Regions from separate parts of the Homo sapiens genome. Here regions 1 and 2 are each linked to region 3. The links are contacts of gene promoters, found by promoter capture Hi-C in blood cells and fetal thymus (Javierre and others, 2016). All regions are on one chromosome and are shown on one strand. The core of a region is centred on a gene start or on the middle of the fragment in contact, and the rest is flanking DNA. Distances in the headings are between cores, read along the strand shown.

Region 1 (3,942 bases), core at 338-2,837, 880 kb after region 3:
TTTCAAAATAATACTAAAAAAGAATTTCATGTGATTAATTTAATCCTCCCCTCTTTTCCTTCTGCTTTCTTTCTTCTCCCTTTCCAAACACTTTTCTGACTAGTGGAAATGAGTTGCAGGATAATATAAACTTAATGAAGCTTCTCATAAATATTTGAATTGAAAACTCTAATGTCTAAAGAAATACTGAAGGGGTCTTTAATAAAGAAACAATTTCTAATGCATTTGGTTATTAAAGCATTCCTGAGCAAATGCATTAAAACAATCCAAGTCCTGGATAAGAACACTTACAGGGCAGGGAATAGGTTGCTTAAAAGGTATTGAATGTGGCTGTTGCCTCCTGCTTGGGCAGGTGTCCAATCACAAATGGACTTCCCAAATGGGCTCCTTTGTACCCCACTTTATACTTGGAGAGGACTTGAGTAGTTGAAACTGAAATTCCAGAACTTGTTTCTCAAAATTTACTTTGAGATTATTTATCATAAGAAAGATCAGGCTATCCATCACTGGAGGATGAAGATTGAATGCATTTGGCGACTGTACAAGTGTCAGTTATTTCAATGAAAAAAGTGAATTGGGATTTTACACTTTTATTTTATAACAGATTGCTGCAGAGTCAAGTTTTAAACAGTTCAGAACCTTCTGTTGTCCCTTTGTCTTTGATTAATTTCTCAAAAGCTATAAAACAAATAAATTTTCATGAATTATTTAGCATGTCTACTTTAAACTGATATAGATATATACATTTTAAATTTACTGCTTCTCTTCTGAAAGTATGTATATATGTATGTATATACACACACGCGTATACATATGTGTATGAGTAATATGTATATATATACATACATAGGGATGATATATATGTGTGTATGTGTGTGTGTGTATATATATATATATATATATATACACATTTTTTCTACATAGAGTGCATCTAGTTTCATCACATTTACTTCATCATGTTCACTTGTAAGCCTGTATCATATGACAACCAATGAAACTTTTCTTGCCTTCAGAACTTAAAAGTATTGATTTCTTAGAAATGATGCTTTACAAATAAACAAGTACACAAATACATATTCTGTACAGAGGCTGTGGAGGGTCTTTCACATGAGTTCTCATTGAGTTACCATGTGGGTATGCTTGTTTTAATTTGCAATTTTCATAAAAAGTAGGTTTTAGGTATTCTTTATAACTTATTTCACATATATCTTTTTTTAAGGAAAAGATAAATACAATTTTATTTTAGAATAAATTCTTGCATAACAATATTAAAATATATTGAAATGTATTTTGATTACCTATTTCTAAAGATAAATAAATAAAAATCTGTTAGAGATATGGCCTGATGTACAATGAATAAATATAACGTAAGCTCAACTGATTTGTATCAGTTAGTACTGTATTCAGCCATGAATTATGGAAAACATGATTAACGGTGGCTTAAAGTTATGCTGGCCATTTTTATTATATAACAAGAAGTTCTGGGTAAAAGCCATTTTAACCAGAGTGAGATGATACCGTATCATAGTTTTGATTTGCATTACTCTGGGGCAGGCAGTCCAGGGATACAGCAACAGGTCCACAGTGTTATCAAAGGCCCAGGCATCTTCTATCTTTCTATTTCTCTATCCATTCATCCTTTCTATTCTAGACATGTTGTATGACTTTTCTCTTATGGTGGCAAGATGGCTGCTGCATCTCTATGTGTCACATCAGTTTCCAGGCCAAAAAAAAAGGCAGAGGAGGAAAAGACTAAAAAAATATTAAGAAGAGCTTGCCAACTGAGCCTATACTTTTAAGTTTCCCATTTGTTCCCATCTTATCTTTGAGCACAGTGGGGTCCCAAGATCAGAAGGGAGGCTAATGGGGGTCAGTATTTTAGCTTTCTGGCCTCAATAGAAGAAGGCAAGGCAACTGTTAATGGCCTTGGGAAGTAAATTTAATGTCTACTGCTCCATTCATTTCAACTTTCTACCAGTGGTAATACCAGGCTAAAGAAATACAATAGGAGAAATCCTTTCTGTGATGATTTGTCTTAAAGGACACTCCTATTTTTATTTTTGAGAATATATCTAGAATCCCTAAAGAAACTAGAAACATAAGGGCACCATCCCTTGCATAGTATGCCACAAATGCAGTTTGTATGAGATATATAATACCTTGCATCTACAATATTTAAAGATTTCTACCCTTTAAGGCATTTTTATGTTATATATACCTATGCTGTGAAAAATAAAACAGACATGAACAACTTATTTCCATTTTTGATGGAATATGTACATGAAGTATTTTACTTAAATTGCGAAACAAATGTTTCAGTGATCATCATTCCTGATTTATCAGCAGTGTTTCTCAGTGTGAAAAACCTTACAGTTAGCAAAAGTGGCAAATGTGTGACTGCATGCAGAACAGATGGAGTACCTCATCAATTTATTTTGATCATCTTACAGAAAAGTGTGATTCCTTCAGGATTAATAGTAAGGAGAGAACGATGACAAAATGTTGGACTGACATGACTTAGACATAGTTTGTATATATAAAGCCTGAAGACTCATATTCAGTGTTTTTGTCATTGTTATGGTTTCATTTTGCTTTGTTTTATATTTTTTTAATTAAAAGTTGCTTTTTTATTTTCTTACCAACAACTGCTAAGGAAAAGGCACGCTAGTTAACCATTTTTTTTAAGGTTGGTCTGAATTGTTAAATATGACAGTTTGAGCTTGGGTGTCTTTAAAAAAAATTACTGTCTGATGCAAGAATCAATGTAAACTTTCTATTTTTCAGAGACTTTCAAAACCATATTCTATTGGGTTAGATGACAGCTGGATGACAAAGCAGTGCATTTATAACAAGGGCAGATACTGCTACTTGCCTACCCACTATTTATTCCCTCCTTCTTCCTTAACATCAGAACCTCACTTTGGTTTGAGACACTAATGTGCCCACTAAATAACTATATTTCTCAACCTCTCCTACTAAATTGTGGTGCAGTCAGACTGGTGGTGCCTAAGTATGTCATTGGCGGGTTTTCTGGGAAAGCTTTTAAAGGGAGCAGACTCAGCTGCACATACCTTTCCTCTTTTTCCTTCCTTTTCTTCCCTTTCCCCTTCCTGGAATAAAAATAGGAATATCATGCAAGGAGACAAAACTTCCATCTTGAGAAGATGAGGACGAAAACTATATGCTGAGATGAATGGCATCTGCAGTAGTTACTATACACTTGTGGTTGTTACATCATCCTGGATTGCTTGAAATTTGACTTCTTGTTATGCAAAACTCTGTGTGCTGAAAACAGTGTTGTTTGGGTTTTCTTTTATATGCAATTGAACACAATTTTTAACTGTTACAATAACTTAAAGGAGAATGTGTGGAGTCTGATGACAATTTAATCTCTGTAGCAGTCTGCTGCAATATTATATAAGTAGTGTATTTGATGCTTTCTTCAGACGGGTAACAACCCAGGAAGCCTCAGTTGCTTTAGAAATTAGAAAAAAGAAAGGCTTTAGAACAATGGTGTTAGCCCCTCCCCATATCATTAGATTTCCGTATTTGTAGGGCTCAATCTTCTCCAGTATATCCAGAATATCCTTATAAATTGTGTCTTTAATTAACAGAGACTTATTTGGATAACGTCATTCTGCAAATATTTTACATTTTTACTTTGAGTGTTTTCCCCATATACAGGGATCATCTTAGGTTTTAAAGCATTAGTTTAAGGACAATAGCTATCATACAATTATATACTTTATCAACCACTGAATATATTAAATATATAAATGCTGCCCTGGCATAAGCTAAATCATGTCATAAGAAGGTCTAGGGCTATCATTGTCTGAAAATAAATATTTATTACTATATGCTCCTTTTTGTATATAACCTGTAACTTTTAGTTGGGTGAGGGGGGGGATAGTAAAGATAATTTGCTTAGTCAAATAAAAATTG
Region 2 (4,378 bases), core at 1,106-3,605, 960 kb after region 3:
TTTCACTGCAGGATGGGAAATGCCATGATAAAAGGTAAAAGCAAGGGAGGTCTTCTAGGCGAAGGGAAGCCACTTGAAAAGAATGGAGAAATGATGTCCCAGGGACTAATTATATATTACAGGACTATGTGGGAAGTGATAGGAGTTGAGGCTTACATGGTAAGTAGTATCTAGGACATAAAGGAGAAGTTTATTATTGAAAAGACTTACCTGAAATGACTATATAAAATGCCTTTGTTTTCTTGAGAACTATCTTAGAGACTTGGTAAGGAGTTTTTAAAAGAGGACATCAAAAATTATAAGCCTTATGAGTTGGAAAGAATCTTAGAGGGCATGTAGCACGTAGTTGTATAATTCTAGCTAAATATAGGGTAATAAATTGGTCTATGAAAATGAAAAGATACCACAGTTGATTAATAGACTAAACATTTAATTGCTAAAATTTTTTCTTGCTCTTATTCTTGAATTTTAAAAAGTATTTTATGAATGCTATTTGAAATTAATTATACTAAATTTATATTGATATTCTGTTCCCCAGGCATTTTCTAATTTGTTCTTAAATCATTTTTTTAGATAGGCACAGAGAGTAGATTATCTGCATTTTATAATGGACTAAGAGATATTTTGTATGGGTTGTGAATAACCCATGATCAAACACTTAGTAATTTCCTCAACCAGGAGTAATACTTCTGATTTCTAACTTCAAATGTCATGTTTAAGATCACAATACTTATAAAATAGTAGTCGTCTGTGTTTAAGAGTCTTCTATGTAGAAGGGCCTCTGGATGCTACTTTCATATGTTATCTTATTTTCCTTCCCAATGATCCCATAAGACAGGTGGTGCTATAGAGACACCAAGACTTGTAGACACTGGATCATTTCAATCTTCGTCAAAGCAGAAGGGGGCTGAAACTCCTCTCCTCTGATTTCAAGCCCCTGGTCTTTCTGCCTCACTAGATCATCTTAGCTGTTGTTTTCAGTCTCTCGAAAGTACTCTTTCAACTAAACAACAAAATATTTGCCCTTCCACCTTGGGAAAGACTCAATTGTTAAAACAGCTTTAAAATTAATGGACTTTGAATTGTTAAATAAGAATAAGACAGATATGTCAATTCCAACTATATGCCTGAGGAAAATGTGTTTCTTTATTGAGGGCTATGCTTCTTATTGTTTAAATTTTGAGTCAGTTGGGCTAACAGCACATACAATTACACAATAATGTAAGAAAACTGAGCTGATTTGAAGAATGAAGGACAAGGTTTTCTGTTTGGTTTAGAATTAAAAAGCTCAGCTGGGCATGGTGGCTCATGCCTGTAATCCCAGCACTTTGGGAGGCTGAGATGGGCAGGTCACTTGAGGTCAGGAGTTCGAGACCAACCTGGCCAACATGGTGAAACCCCGCTTCTACTAAAAATATAAAAATTATATTATATTACACAGGCAAGGGGGCAAGTGCCTGTAATCCAGCTACTCACGAGGCTGAGACAGGAGAATCTCTTGAACCCAGGAATTGGAGGATGCAGTGAGCTGAGATCGTGTCGTTCACTCCAGCCTGGCAGACAGAGTGAGACTTGGTCTAAAAAAAAAAAAAAGCTCCTTCTTCACACTACCCCACTCCTTTGCCATCTCCCCTAGATAATGTAGCTTAATTTTTTTTGTCTCCCATAATATTTGCATTCCATGAAGAACTTCAGCTGTGTTATTCAATACTTCAAGTTAGCATTTCAAGCTGAACGTATGTGTTTCAGGTACATTTCCTGAAATGAAATGAAGGTATTACCTTCATTTCCAGGATCCCTGTTATCTTGAAGTTTATTTACTACATAGAGAAATAAAATACAAAAATGTATTTTTGGGCCGGGTGCGATGGCTCATGCTTGTAATCCCAGCACTTTGTGAGGCCGAGGAGGGTGGATCACAAGGTCAAGTGATCGAGACCATCCTGGCCAACATGGTGATCCCTGTCTCTACTAAAAATACAAAAATTAGCTGGGCGTGGTGGCACGTGCCTGTAGTCCCAGCTACTCAGGAGACTGAGACAGGAGAATCATGTGAACCAGGGAGGTGGAGGTTGCAGTGAGCTGAGATTGTGCCACTGCACTCCAGCCCAGCAACAGAGCGAGACTCCATCTCAAAAAAAAAAAAATATGTTTTTGATTGATGAACACAACAACATCTTAATTGTTAAATGGAATATGTGCAACAACTGTAAAAAATAATTGACTGGGTTATAGGTCTTAAAAAAAGAGAGACCTAATTTACCAAACTACTTAGAGGAAGGAAAGCATAATTTTATCTTTATTTCAACTGTAATAATAAATTATCTTCTAAAGTAATACTGGCATACCTCATTTTATTACGATTCACTTTTTTGTGCTTCAGTTATTGTGTTTTTCACCAATTGAAGGTTTGTGGCAACCCTGTGTCTAGCAAATTTGTCAGCACTTTTTTTTTCTAACAGCGTGTGCTTACTTTGTATTTCTCTGTCACATTTTGGTAATCCCTACAATAATAATAATCATTATTATTACATCAGTTATGGTGATCTGTGATCAGTGGTCTTCAATGTTACTATTGTAATTCTTTGGGGTGCCACAAAAATGCCTATATAAGACTTCCAACTAATTGAGAAATGTTGTGTATGTTCTGACTACTACACTCATTGGCCATTTCCGTCTTTCTTCCTCTCCTTGGTCCTCTCTGTTCCCTAAGACACAATAATATTGAAATTTGACCAGTTAGTAACCCTGCAATGACCTCTAAGCATTCAAGTGAAAGGAAGAGTCCCACATCTCTCCTTTCAGTGAAAAGCTGGAAATGATTAAACTTAGTGAGGAGGGCATGTCTAAAGCCAAGACAGGCCAAAAGCTAGGCCTCTTGCACCAAACAGTTAGCCAAGTTGTGAATTCAATGGAAAGATTCTTGAAGAAAATTAAAAGTACTTCTCTGGTGAACACACAAATGATAAGCAAAACAGCCTTATTGCTGATGAGAAAGTTTTAGTGATCTGGATAGACGATTAAACATTTCCTTAAGCCAAAACCTGGTCCAGAGCAAATCCCTAAGTTTCTTCAATTCTGTGAAGGCTGAGAAACTTCATAAAGGCTAAAAGGTGAAGAAGATGTAGGAGAGAAATTTGGAGCTAGCAATGGTTTTATCATGGGGATAAGGAAATAAACAATTTCTATAACATAAAAGTGCAATATAAAGCAGCAGCAGATGATGGAGAAGCTGTAGCAAGTTATCCAGAAGACCTAAGATAATTGATTAAGGTGGCTACACTAAATAACAGATTTACAATGAAGATGAAATAGCTTTCTATTGAAAGAAGATGCCACCTAGGACTTTCATAGCTGGAGAGAAGTCAGTGCCTGGATTCAGAGTTTCAAAGGACATTCTGACACTGTTTTTAGGGGCTAATGCACCTGATGACTTTAAGTTGAAGCTGGTGCTTATCTGTCATTCTGAAAATCCTGGTGCCCTTAAGAATGATGCTAAATCTACTTTGCCCTTGCTCTAGAAATGGAACAACAAAGCCTGAATGAAAGCACATCTGTTTACAGCACGATAAACTGCATAAATTAAGACTACTGTTGAGACCTACTACTCAGAAAAAAATATTTCTTCTAAAATATCACTGCTCATTGGCAATGCACCTGGTCAACTAAGAACTCTGATGAAGATGTACATAAATTAATGTTGTTTTCATGCCTGTTATCACAACAGCCATTCTGCAGCTCATAGATCAAGGAGTAATTTTGACTTTAAAGTCTTATCATTTAAGAGTAATATTTCATAAGGTTATTGCTGCCATACATAGTAATTCTTCTGATGGATATGGGAAAAGTAAATTAAAAACATTTTGGAAAAGATTCACCATTATAGATGCCATTAAGAACGTTTGTGATTCATGGGAAGAATTCAAAATGTTGACATTAACTGGAGTTTGGAAGAAGTTGATTCCAACCCTCATGGATGACTTTGAGAGGTTAAAGACTTCAGTGGAGGAAGTAACTGCCTATGTGTAAATAGCAAGAGAACTAGAAGTAGTGCCTGAAGATATAACTGAATTGCTGCAATTTTATGATAAAAATTTAATGGATGAGAGATTTCTTTTTATGTATGAGCAAACAAAGTGGTTTCTTGAGATGATATCTACTTCTGGTGAAAATGTTGTGAACATTGATGACATAACAGATTTGGAATATTGCATAAACTTAGTTTTTAAAGCTATGGCGGGGTTTGAAAGGATTGACTCCAATTTTGAAAGAAATTCTACTGTGTGTAAAATGCTATCAGCCTCTCATGCTACACGTAAGTCTTTTGTGAAAGCAAGAGTCCATTCACGTGGCAAATTTTAGTGCTGTCTTATTTTAA
Region 3 (4,468 bases), core at 1,521-4,020:
TATGTCTTCCAGGACTGTGACTCCTACCCCTAAGTAATATTTGGTCACCTGGTGGACATTTTTTCCCTGACTCTTCAAGGATCAGAAGGAGTTTTGATGATGAATCTGGTGGTGGGGGAAGTCAAAGAGGAACAGAGGAAAGCCAGAGGGGGAGGTCAGAGGGAGGAACAAACAGCCATCTTTGTCGGCTACAAGAGGAGGCTCCTTTGATCTAGTGTCCCCACATGTTCCCCACATGAAGGCTATGACTTCAGGGGCAGATGTAGAATGGCCTCTTTTGGTGGGGTACCAGATGAAGGAGTCCACAAGCCTAGCTTCTGGAAAATATCTGATCTTTCAGCAAATTCTGTTGTCTCTTCCTACAAAATACATCCAGAAGATGACCACTATCCATTATTTTCACATCTAACATTGTGATCCAAACCAGTCTCATCTCTCTCCTGGATTATTGCAATAGGCCCACTGTTCTCTCTGATTCAGCCTTTGCCTTCTAAAAGTCTATTCTCAACACAGTTACCAGAGTGATCTTTTCAAATGTAATTTCTCCTGCAAAACTCTGCAAGCTTCCCATGTCACTGAATCTAAAACTAATCAATTATCTAGACCTAACTACCTGTTTACAAGGCAATTCAGCTCATAGGGGAACATCTAGATAACATCACAAGAATACAATTAACCATTTCCAAACTGTGGAAAATTCTAGAAGATAAATTACTCAGTTTTTTCCAACAGGTGAATGCCTTAAAAAGGGAGGGAGAACTGTTATAGACTAAAAGATGTATCAACCAATCACAATGTGTGGACTTTGTTTGGATCTTGATCTCAACAATACAGTTATACAAAGATATTTTAGCATATTTGGAGGAAATTGAGTATGGCTTGGTTATGAAATTATATAAAAGAATTATGATTAAATTCATTTGGTGAGATAATGATATTTCTGTTATGCTTTTTAAAAGTTCATATCTTTGTAGGTACATACTGCTGCATTCAAGGAGAAATGACATAATGTCTGGAATTTGCTTTAAAATACAGCAAGTCCCCCACTCCTCTATCTCAAACACCTAAATAAAAAGAAATGAACAAAAGACTAAAAGTCTGTGTGTGTGGTGGTTGGAACAAGAATGGCAGAATACTGATAACTGTTGAAACTGGATTATGTGTACATGAAACTGCATTCCTATTATACAATTCTCTCTACTTTAGTCTGAAAATTTCTACCACCCAAAAAAATGCTCTTTGGCCCCTCTTTTTTAGGGATTCTTTAAGAAACTGGAGATTTAATCTCATCAGCAAATTTTTACAAGGCTACATTTGCCCTATCTTCATTCTCCTTCTGCCTGGGGACAGTCTGCAGTGCCCTTTCAAATTTGGGCCCATCTTGGTCCTCTGGGTATTTCTACTGCTTTTTTAATGCAGTGATTTCTGGGAGTCCCCCTCATACTTGTCAACTAATAGTCCCACTGGACTGGGGCCACTGCCCCAAATAAGGTGTCTCTAATTTTAGATTGGAATCAGGAAGATCCAGATGGGTTGCCACTTATAACTGGTATACATTTCAGCCCATGAGCAGAGATGTGCAGGAAATAGTATGCAATTTTCTTATGTAACTCCATTTAATTTGTAATTTAAGCCTTGGTTCTGTTGATGTCCTCTTTGGATTTCCACCCCTCCCTATTTGGAAATCATACAGGGCTGAGGTTTTGAGGGTGGGGTGAGAGCATAGTCTCTGGTTATTGGAGCATACAGCTGAAGTTTAGATGCCCATCAGCTCAGCTGCCAGGGAGTCTTTAGGTGGTGTGGCTCCTATGCCATGTGTGAGATAGGTCGCCATGATTCTGCCTGTACGCATAATACAGGCAGCCCTTCTTGAAGTTTTTGCCACATGTACCTCTTCAGCCACATTTTAGAGGGCTCCTCTCCTCCATAGTTTGAAGATCCCTCTCTCTCTCTGACCTAATCAGTACCTCTCAACACTATAGTAGAGCAAGAAGGGGGCATGCCTAGTTAAAAAAAATCCTGCTTCCGTTATGTTTCTGCTAACTTTCCTCTTTCCTACAGAGTTTGAGATTTTAGAAATAAAAGTCAGGTGGGGTGTGGTGGCTCATGCCTACAATCCTAGCACTTTGGGAGCCTGAGGCAGGAGGATAGCTTGAGGCTAGGAGTTCAAGACCAACCTGGGCAACATACTGAGACCCTGTTTCTCAAAAAAAAAAAAAAAAAAAAAAATTAGCCGGGTGTGGTGCCTCGTGTCTGGTGCCTGTTGTCCCAGCTACTCGGGAGGCTGAAGTGTGATGATCACTTGAGCCTAGGGGCTGAAGTGACCCTATGATCACACCACTGCAATCCAGCCTGGGCAACAGAGAGAGACCCTGTCTCTGAACAAACAAAACAAAATAAAAACAACAAAAAAAAAAAAAAGAAAGAAAAGTCAAGATGATTAACATGCTATTGCTGCTTTCAGCCCTGCCATACCCCTCCTCTGAGCAATGAACACAAAGCCTGCTACCTGCTTGAGTCCAGAAGGGAAAGGGTGAAAAAAAAAGAAGAAAAGAAAAAAATTAAACAGAACATGTTAACATCTCAAAATATTCTGCCACATTTGAAATACGGGAGAGTTGAATTCATTAGAGGACTTCTATTGGAAAAAAGGAATTGTTTTTGAAAATGATGTCTCTGCAGTTGCACAGACTGTGTTGGACCTAGGTCCGTAGAACGCCGTGATGTCATCATTGATGTCAGAGAATCTGCGATGGGCCTGGTGACCTTTGAACCTTAACAGCCCTGCAGTGTAGTGGGCACTGGGCAGTGCTGCTCCTTCACTAAGCGGTCTGAGTTCTTTAGCTATCTCGGAGATTCAACTACGTTTACTCGTACTGAATCTTTTTAATGAATTTCCTGAGAGCCAAGAAGGGCCAATCTACAGGAAAAAGTGGGAGGTGGACATTAAGCATCTTCTAGAAACTCTTCTAGCTGATATCATGAAACGACGACAAAAGAGGAAACATTTGGAAAATGAAGAGTCCCAGGAAACCGCTGAGAAGGGAGGAGGTATGTGCGGGGCAAACTTTCTGGGGCACAAGCGTCACTGGCCAGCCTGAGCCGCCTTCTTTTTCTTTTTTGAGACGGAGTCTCGCTCTATCGCCCAGGCTGGAGTGCAGTGGCGCGATCTTGGCTCACTGAAAGCTCTGCCTCTCGGGTTCACGCCATTCTCCTGCCTCAGCCTCCCGAGTAGCTGGGACTACAGGTGCCCACCACCACGCCCGGCTAATTTTTTGTATTTTTAGTAGAGACGGGGTTTCACCGTGTTAGCCAGGATGGTCTCGATCTCCTGACCTCCTGATCCGCCTGCCTCGGCCTCCTTTTTTTTTTTTTTTTCGTTTCTGAGACAGAGTCTTGCTCTGTCGCCCAGGCTGGAGTGCAGTGGTGTGAGCTCGGCTCACTGCAAGCTCCGCCTCCCAGGTTCACGCCATTCACCTGCCTCAGCCTCCCGAGTAGCTGGGACTATAGGCGCCCGCCACCACGCCTGGCTAATTTTTTTTTTTTTTTTTTTTTTTGTATTTGTAGTAGAGACAGGGTTTCACCGTGTTAGCCAGGATGGTTTCGATCTCCTGACCTCATGATCCACCTGCCTCGGCCTCCCAAAGTGCTGGGATTATAGGCGTGAGCCATCGCTCCCGGCCAGCCTGAGCCTTCTTTAGGGAGGAGAAACTGAGGAGAATGTACCACCTATGCAGTAGGGAGGGGAAGACCTGGCTGTTGGCTGATGCCCGCACATCCATCTTGAGGGTACCCAGATGTGAGACGGACAGGAAGTTCAGATGCCACTGGCACACAGAAAGCCAACCCTGCTGGGCTGAGAACTTTTGCTCTGGGGCTGCTGGTACCTGGAACTATGCCAGTCTCAGGCAGGCGGGGGACCCACTTACAAAGACCCAGTGATGCAGCCTGAGTCTCATCTTTCTCTCGTATTCTCTTTATTTGCTCTTTCTCTGGGGTGACTGAGGTGGAAGGTGTGAAGGGTGCTGGTAGAAGTCTATGATTTGCACTACACCTTTTAGCAGAAACGAGAGTAGCCCAATGAGTTAAAGGCCTTGTTGAAAAATATCTTGAGAAGTGAAATGCTTGTTAGAAAGTAGATTAAACACTTGTTTAGGGATGGCGTCATAGTGAAACCACGGAGGTTTGATTGCTTCAGCGGGAAGAATTAACCAATTAATCCAATAGAGTTTGTGAATCCACAGTGTGGGACTTCCCAGAGGAAATGAAGCACAGGGTAAGGGCCTCAGATCGCTGTCAATTTACTTCCCAGGCTGCATGATAATGGCATGTATTAAATGTAAACAAGCCACTTATCCTGAAAGGGGGATGCTCACATGCAGGAGACAGGGCAGAAAGGAGCCTGCCCCAGAGATGGCCCTGGAGGCTTCTGCCCCGATTAGAGCTCAGCAGCGCCTATGAGGCATAA

The links. The method cuts DNA at HindIII sites, captures the fragments that hold promoters and counts their contacts. A CHiCAGO score of 5 or more calls a contact.
Region 1: a contact is called between a fragment that was not itself captured here and the fragment with the promoter of FAM170A in region 3, in 1 of 17 cell types (neutrophils). The highest score is 6.7, in neutrophils.
Region 2: a contact is called between a fragment that was not itself captured here and the fragment with the promoter of FAM170A in region 3, in 1 of 17 cell types (neutrophils). The highest score is 7.8, in neutrophils.

What each region holds. Positions count from the first base shown.
Region 1 is chr5:120,505,065-120,509,006 of GRCh38, forward strand. The region is part of intron 1 of PRR16 (proline rich 16); the gene reads left to right. Among named protein-coding and RNA genes, the nearest start is that of PRR16, 43 kb to the left of the region's middle. The HindIII fragment of the contact is 2,899 bases long and covers 139-3,037 here.
Region 2 is chr5:120,584,038-120,588,415 of GRCh38, forward strand. All of the region lies in intron 1 of PRR16 (proline rich 16), which reads left to right. Among named protein-coding and RNA genes, the nearest start is that of PRR16, 120 kb to the left of the region's middle. The HindIII fragment of the contact is 5,467 bases long and covers 1-4,378 here.
Region 3 is chr5:119,626,788-119,631,255 of GRCh38, forward strand. FAM170A (family with sequence similarity 170 member A) reads left to right here and starts at 2,771. Exons shown (of 5, transcript NM_001367956.1): 1 at 2,771-3,051. The coding sequence starts at 2,982. The HindIII fragment of the contact is 9,079 bases long and covers 562-4,468 here.